Regions from separate parts of the Homo sapiens genome. Here region 1 is linked to region 2. Evidence: promoter capture Hi-C in 16 types of primary human blood cells and fetal thymus (Javierre and others, 2016). All regions are on one chromosome and are shown on one strand. The core of a region is centred on a gene start or on the middle of the fragment in contact, and the rest is flanking DNA. Distances in the headings are between cores, read along the strand shown.

Region 1 (4,131 bases), core at 846-3,345, 520 kb after region 2:
ATGAGCAGAGATCGCACTACTGCAGTCCAGCCTGGCTTATGGTGCGAGATTCCATCTCAAAAAGAAAGAAAAAGCTTTGGTTTACACCAGGAATATCAAATTTGACATGGATATACAAAATACATTAATACCTTTAAAAAGTTATACCAAAGAATAAATTATTAAAGAATGAGCAGGACCTATTTGAAGAAAGTTGTAAGTGCTGGAGTGTGGAAGACTTGATAAATAGAAGTATTAACTTATTTTGAGGGCTTAAAAAGGCTAGAAGTACTGATGTCCTTTTCCTGAGTCCTGAAGTCATTCTAGCCATCAACCTCTGGAGAAATGCTGCTGGGGCCATTTTACCATGGGACCAGAAATACAAGTCCCTGACATGGGCTTGGCTGAGAAGAAGCAAGTGGGGTGCAAACTATGTGTGCTTTCATGTTGCAAAGAAGCTGTGTTGAATCAACAAATATTACTTGAGCACTTGCCAGGATTCCAGGTACTGTTCCAGGGCTGGATCACAGTGATGAGTGGGGCAGGTCTTACACCTGCTTTCATTGGGCCTACATCCATTCCATGGCTGATTGGATCAACAAAAATGAAGTTGCCCATTCAGTACCTCAATTGCACTGGGCACCTTTCAACTGCTCATTGGCCCTGCAGCTAATGCTACTATGTTGGACAGTACAGATCTAGAACATCTCATTTATAGAAAGTTCCATTGGACAGCACTGCTCTAGATAGGGTGATAGACATGATAAATTAATGAATCAGATATTTGGGATGGTAATGAGTGTTGGAAAGAGAAGGAAACAATGGGATACATTGGTGGGGGACAAGCGAGGTACGGGTGGGCAGCAGTAGTTCAGAACTAAGTAGGAAGATGGTTCTGAGGAGGTGACGTTTGAGCTCAGACCTGAATGGGAAAGGCGAACCAGGTGAAGATGTTGGGGAAGGTGAACCAGGCGAAGATGTTGGGGAAGACTATACCAGGCAGGAGGGTGGTGCACATGTGGATCTCTGGATGAAAGGCCATATTCTAGGAAAACTAAGATGGTGGCTGTGGGAGACCCCTTTAGCGTCAAGGACATGAAATAACAGGGTTTGGAACCCGGCTCCTTTGTTGCCCACTATGTTAGGCCGTTCTTAAATTGCTGTAAATACCTGAGACTGGGTTATTTATGAAGATAAGAGATTTAATTGGCTCACAGTTCTGCAGGCTGTACAAGGGTGGCACTGGCATCTGGTTGGCTTCTGGGGAGGCCTCAGGGAGCTTTTTACTCATGGTGGAAGGCAGGGAGCAGGCACATCATGGGAAAAGCAGCAGCCAGAGAGAGGAAGAAGGTGCCGCATACTGTTGTTTGTTTGTTTTGTTTTTTTTTTTGGAGACACGGTCTCACTCTCACCTAGGCGGTAGTACAGTGGTGCGATCATGACCCACTGCAGCCTCGACTTCCTGAGTTCAAGCGATTCTCCCACCTCAGCTTCCTGAGTAGCCAGGACTACAGGCACATGCCGCTACGCCTGGCTAATTTTTTTTTTTTTTTTTTTTTGTGGAGATGGGGTTTTGCCATGTTGCCCAGGCCGGTCTAGAACTCCTGGGCTCAAGCGAACCACCTACCTCAGCCTCCCAAGGTGCTGGGATTACAGGCGTGAGCCATTCTGCCCGGCCACACTTTTTTAAACAACCAGATCTCGTGTGATTAACTTAACCACCAGGAGGATGGTGCTAAGCCATTCTTGAAGGTTCACCAGGCCCCACCTCCAACACAGCATCACTTTTCAACCTGAGATTTGGTAGGGACACAGAACCAAACCGGATCATCCACTCTGCAACCCTGGGCAGGGTTCCTAGCCTATCCCAGCATGAATTTCTTTTTTTTTTTTTTCTTTCTGAGATGGAGTCTTGCACTGTCGCCCAGGCTGGAGTGCAGTGGTGTGATCTTAGCTCACTGTAACCTCCACCTCCTGGGTTCAAGTGATTCTCCTGCCTCAGCCTCCCAGGTAGCTGGGACTACAGGTGCCCGCCACCTCGCCTAGCTAACTTTTGTGTTTTTAGTAGAGACGGGGTTTCACCATATTGGCCAGGCTGGTCTCAAACTCCTGACCTTGTGATCTGCCCACCTCGGCCTCCCAAAGTGCTGGGATTACAGGCATGAGTCACCGCACCAGGCATATTTCTTTTGTGTATGGTGTACATTTGCTTCCTGGGACTGTGGGCAGCCTTCGTGAAATGATGGTACTGTCATTGATTCAAAAACTGAGTAACGTAAAGATGATCAGCAGCCTTTGGCAGATCCTCTACTTAGGGGTGTGAGATCCACAAGTCCCAGTTGGCAGCCTCAGTGGTACACTGGAGGAGACAGATGCAGAAGGTAATCCAACAGGGAGCTTAGGGGCACTGAGGGAATGATGAGAGAGAACAGGAGAGCTGAGAGCTTTCCAGACAAGGAGGAAAAGTGATGGGGTACTGTGCCCAGGGATTAGGGGAGCTGAGGGTAAGTACTCTTCTGACTTTTCCCCCACAAGCTGCTAAAAAGATCATTGCTTTTCGTTATATTTTGGACTGGTATACCTGGCTAATCAGCATTCACTGGCAAACAGCACTGTGAGGAAGACAGCTGCCTAAGGCCTGTTTGTCACCCTGGAAGGGAAGCAGCAGAGAGGTAGAAGTATCCTGAGAGAAGAAAATAGTGTCAAGAGGGAGAAAGCAGCAGCTCCCATCAAGCCCTTACCACATGCTGTGCCTGGACTTTGGTATCTCATCACTTTGGGTGAAGAAACTCAGGCTCAAGAAGTTAATCTCTCTTGATTAAACCCCTTGCTTTGAGCCTCAGTGAATTTGTTTCACAACCCATTAGACAGACAGTTGTAGGTGAGGTGACTACATTGCTACGGGCTCATTCAGTTGCTGGACTGAAAGCCATTTGGAGCTCCAGCTGATAGGGATTATGCAGCTCCACATGAGTGGGTTGGGTCAGTCATGTCTGTGGAATGAGATGGGTGGAATGAGAATCCAGTTCCACCTCTGCCTGGTGGTGAACTTAAGAGCTTCCATTTTCTCCTCCATGAAGTGGAGCAGCTAATTTCCTGCAATAGACAGTGGTAAGGATTGCCCTAAAGGTCTTGGGATAGTCTATGGGTTGACATTTGGAGGACTGAGGTGCACAGAATGAGTCCATCACTTCCTCACCAGTTTCTGGGTTTGTGGTCTCTCTGTTCACTGTGGTGTCCTTGGTTCCACAGCATGCAAAAGGTGCTTTATGATAACTGTGTACAGAACAGAGTGTGGGGCCTCATGGGTTAATAATAAAGATTAAAGCAGAAGTAAGTACATTAGAAAGGGGTGGGGTGGAGTAGAAGAATCCAACAGTTGTTTTCCTAGGGGCCAAGGCATGAAAATCCCTCGATTAAGGAATACAAAAATGAAATTTTAGAAATTTATGAAGTAACGTTTAAGATGTTTAAGTGTCATGCATGGTTACCTAAAATAGTACTGGTGGCCCAGTGCTGGTCTGCCACTTAGCCCCCCCCCAGGAAGTACAGATTCAGTTGGTGCATGTCCCATGTCCTAGGCACTTAGTCCGGTGCTGCTGGGCCTCCAGTAAATCTTATCCCCAGCTGCTTCTCAGGAAAAATTCAAGCCTTAAGAGCTGTAATTGGGCTGGGCACGGTGGCTCACACCTGTAATCCCAGCACTTTGGGAGGCCGAGATGGACGGATCACCTGAGGTGAGGAGTTCGAGACCAGCCTGGCCAAGATGGCGAAACCCTGTCTCTACTAAAAATACAAAAATTAGCTGGGCCTGGCGGTGGGCGCCTGTAATCCCAGCTGCGGCTGAGGCAGGAGAATTGCTTGAACCCGGGAGGCGGAGGTTGCAGTGAGCCGAGATCCCTCCACTGCACTCTAGCGTGGGCGACTAAGAGCGAAACTCCGTCTCAAAAAAAAAAAAAAAAAGAAAAAAACGCTGTAATTGAAAGAAAATAAATGAAGTATGCTTTCAAATTAAGAAAAGTTACTTGGGGCGAAGTAAGTCCCCAGAAGTCCTAAGAAACAGAAAGGGAATTAAATACAGATCAGAGCACTTATAAATGAGTTGGAGAGGCCAAGCCCCCAAAATGAAAATACCTCAAAAGCTTATTTGGG
Region 2 (4,321 bases), core at 604-3,103:
TTTTTTGCTGGCAACTTTGATTAATTTAAACATACAAAAATTAGCTGGGCATGGTGGTGTATGCTTGTAACCCCAGCTACTCAGGAGGCTGAGGCAGGAGAATCGCTTGAACCCGGGAGGCAGAGGTTGCAGTGAGCTGAGATCGCGCCACTGCACTCCACCCTGGGAGACAGAGCAAGACACTGTCTCAAGAACAAAAACAAAAAAGCCCAGGCGCAGTGGCTCACCTGAGGTCAGGAGTTCAAGACCAGCCTGGCCAACATGGTAAAACCCTCGCTCTACTGAAAATACAGAAATTAGCCGGGCATGGTGCTGGCGCCTGTAGTGCCAGCCACTTGGGAGGCTGAGGCAGAAGAATTGCTTGAACCTGGGAGGTGGAACTTGTGGTGAGCCAAGATCAAGCCATTGCACTCTAGCCTGGGCAACAGAGTGAGACTCCGTCTGGGAAAAAAAAAAAAAAAAAGAACTGATAAACAAATTCACCTGTGTAGCTGAATTCAAAGTCAACATGCAAAAGTCAACATGTAAAACTCATATGCCCTTCCATACACTAACAATGAAAAATCTGAAAAGGAAATTAAGAAAACAATATCATTTGCAATAGTAATGTATATGGTCAAATGATCTCAACAAGGCTACCAAGACCACTCAATGGGGAAACGATGATCTTTTCAGCAAATGATGCTGGGAAAATGAAATATTCACATGCTAAGGAATGAAGGTGAACCCTTACCTAACACCAAAAACACAAATGAACTCAAAATGGACTAAAAACCTAAACATAAGACCCAAAACTATAAAACACTTAAAAGAAAATATAGGGTGAAAGTTTTATGACATTGAATTTGGCCATAATTTCTTGGATTTGACACCAAATACACATGTGACAAAAGAAAAATAGACCAATTAGACTTCATGAAAATTAAAACTTTAGTATATCAAACAATAACAAAGTGAAAGAGGAACCTATTTAATGAGAACAAAATACAGGTTGAATATCCCTGAGCCAAAAATCTAAAATCCAAAATGCTCCAAAATCCAAATTTTTTTTTTCTTTTTTTTTTTTTGGAGACGGAGTCTCCCCCTGTCGCCCAGGCTGGAGTGCAATGGCGTGATCTCGACTCACTGCAACCTCTGCCTCCCAGGTTCAAACGATTCTCCTGCCTCAGCCTCCCAAGTACTGGGATTACAGGCGCTCGCCACCATGCCCGGCTAATTTTTGTATTTTTAGTAGAGACAGGGTTTCACCATGTTGGCCAGGCTGGTCTCGAACTCCTGATCGCGTGATCCACCCACCTTGGCCTCCCAAAGTGCTGGGATTACAGGCGTGAACCACTGCGCCCGGCCCGCCCGACTAATTTTTGTATTTTTAGTAGAGATGGGGTTCCGCCATGTTGGCCAGCCTGGTCTCGAACTTCTGACCTCAGGTGATCCGCCCGCCTCGGCCTTCTAAAGTGCTGGGATTACAGGCGTGAGCCACCGCGCCCAACCCCCTGAAATAATATTTGTTTGCCTCTAGGGGCACCCTGAGCTTCGTGGAGTCTGAAATAATGTCTCTAAACACTTAAGTGATCAGTTACGGAAAACACTTCCCAGAAATCTGGGAAAAGCCCCTTTAAGAAGGAGTAAATACCTCCTTCTCCCCTAGAGGCCGAAGTCGCCATTTCCCTGCACGGGGCACAGCACCTCAGAATACAAGTTCGCAGAGGTCAAAGCAGTGGACACACTCCGAAGAGCTCCGTGGAGTTTTGGAAACTACATTATCCAGAGTGCAGAGCGCAAAACGGCGGCGGAGTTGAGCCAATGACAGCCCAGGATAGCAACACTTCCGCGCACGCGCAGCGCGACGGGCCGGAACTTCCGGCGTCCTCCTCGTGGCGGTCATTTTGGCCTCTGTCCTGTTTGTCCAGCCCGCCAGTTTCTGCAGTGGAGGTCGCGACTGAGGGACGGGACAGAGAAGTCGCGAAAGTGGGCCAGAGGTTCTGCGACACCACCTCGGGTGAGCTGCGCCAGGCCCGGGATAGGGACTGTTGTGTTCGAATGCCCGCCCCGGTCGGCCGCCGCTCCCCGCCTAGTCCACGGAGCTCAATGGCGGCAGTCGCGCTGAGGGACTCGGCTCAGGTGAGTTGTGCGTCCTCCGGGTCTCGCCTACCTCCCCCAGCAGAAGCCTTAAGGCCCAGTGAGGGATGCCTGCTCACAGCCCTGCAGCCCAGGCCCCAGTACCCTGGACAAGAAGGCGCTTGTGGATTGGACCCGTTTGTGACGCCCAGTGTGTACGGAAATGTGACGGGCAGTTGACTGGCGCGTGCAGAACTTGGAGCTGCGACTAAGCTGGGGGGGATTCAGGAGCCTGGGGTCCGTCTCGGGTCTGCAGGAACATAGAGTGAGGCAGAGTTGCACCTGACGAATTTGACGATTCTGAGGACACTGGCAGCCTTCGAGATTTGTGAACAGATAGGGACACTGGGCTAGGATTTCCTAAAGCTATCCAAAAGTTGCTCAGGGGAAGAACAGGCTGAAGAGAGGTAATAGTAGTTAGGCATAGGAAGACTGAGTTCTTGTCCAAGCTCACGCAGCTGGTAAAGTCAGCACTGAGAACTGAGGTGCGGAGATAGTGCAGCCAGCCCAGGCCACCTGGCTCCAAAACTGGACCAGGGTCATTGGGCGACCTGAGCCTCGCCACTCGTCTAGCCTTGGGCCCTGAGACTTTGAGCAAATACAAAGCCCAGAGTCTTAAGTCCAGGTTAGATTATATGAAGCTGTTGGCAGCCGGGGGAAAGGAGATGTAGAAGGTTGTCCAAGGCAAAGTTACCAGTATATGCTAAGTTTGGAGAGGAGGCTAAGATAGTTCAGGAACCTACAATTATTTTCTTTTCATGAGAACAGGGAGCAGTGTAGTAGAAGTCAGACCCGGAATGGTTCCCTGAGAAGTTGAGTTGTCTATTCGTTACTTAATAGTAACAGTGGGAGGTTTGGAGTGGAAGAGGGAGGTGATCTGGTTCTGGTCTTATTAGGCTCCCTGTGGCTGCAGCATGGGAAGCCAACTGAAGGATGAGGTGGGGAGACCTGGGAGGAGACTACTGGGATAGGCCAGGTGAATGTGATAGAATGTGATAGGCCAAAATGGTGGCTGTGAAGATGCGAGAAGCAGTTGGATTCTGGATTCATTTTTTAAGTAGGGCTGCCTGAATTTTTAGTTTTGAGAAAGAGAGTGGAGTCAGGGATGACTGAAAGGTTTTATTTTGGCAGTTAGAAGTGTGGAAGCTCCATCAACTAAGATGGGGAAGTACATAGTAGGAGTAGTTTTCATTTGGGATATCAGAAGTTTTATTTTTGACCTGCTAAGAGTATGAGAGCTTTCAGAGAATGGTTCATGGGCTGCTGGAACTGTAGGTCAGGAACAGTGAGGAGAGATTCAGAATGGAGACTTTTCCAAAAGGTAGTGGACAATCTGTGGGCCGGGGTGGAGCTGTGGATCACATTTAGTAGAGGGGAAGCCTGCTCACAATGATAATAATAGTTGTCAAGGAAGGGGAGGGGAAGGTCAAGGACAGGTCTCCTGTGTGAGCCCCTGGTTGTGTGAGGTGTTGCAACACAGGTCTTGGACAGAAGTGTTCACGGTGAGGGTCGTACAGAGATTATGATCTAGCATGTGGCCAAGGCTTCTCAGGGGTGAGTAGACATGAGATGAATGTAGAGGCATAGGAGTTAGACAGGATGATGCTAGGACTGGTGCGTATTCACCTCTCTGCAGACTGACCAGGGTTTTATATTAACTCTTGGTGGGATCTGGGAAGTTTCAGTCAGGCTGTCACGTTATCTTAGGGGCATAATTGGCCATCTGTGGGACTCGATGGGCCCGGGGTAGAGAGCCACTGGGGTTGGACCTTGAATTAGTGGTAGTTGGAGAGAGGAAGGCTGTGACTGGTTGGGGGACAGCAATCACAGCCCAGAAGTGGAAGAGGCCTTGGTTATCTGAGATCCACAGGTGATTCTTGATGGGTGAGGTTGAAGCAAGGAATAGTCAGGTAGAAAGGCCTTCATGGTATGACTTGAGGCTGCCCCTAACTTTAGGTGCAGTTAGAGATCTGGGATAGTACTGAACCGTATTTGAATTTGCCAGCCACTCTCTGGGCCCCATATGCTGAGTAACCAGTTGGGAGGCCAAGGAGATGCTCATGGTATGAGGCAGGAAGTAAGCTGTGGCTGTGGGAGTGACACTGTGAGAGAAGTGTGGTAGAGTATTGTGCACATGGAGACAAGAATGTGAAGTGGTGGCTCCTTGGTGTTGAGGACACAAGGGTGAAGTATGAACCAAGAC

Evidence for each region. Contacts are between HindIII fragments. The CHiCAGO score rates a contact against its expected background, and 5 or more counts as called.
Region 1: a contact is called between a fragment that was not itself captured here and the fragment with the promoter of ZNF551 in region 2, in 1 of 17 cell types (total CD8 T cells). The highest score is 5.0, in total CD8 T cells.

Annotation. Positions count from the first base shown.
Region 1 is chr19:58,199,655-58,203,785 of GRCh38, forward strand. The region is part of intron 4 of ZNF274 (zinc finger protein 274); the gene reads left to right. Among named protein-coding and RNA genes, the nearest start is that of ZNF274, 19 kb to the left of the region's middle. The HindIII fragment of the contact is 4,047 bases long and covers 73-4,119 here.
Region 2 is chr19:57,680,124-57,684,444 of GRCh38, forward strand. ZNF551 (zinc finger protein 551) reads left to right here and starts at 1,854. Exons shown (of 3, transcript NM_138347.5): 1 at 1,854-2,121. The coding sequence starts at 2,041. RefSeq lists an enhancer at 1,546-2,169 and a silencer at 2,225-2,294. The HindIII fragment of the contact is 7,295 bases long and covers 1-4,321 here.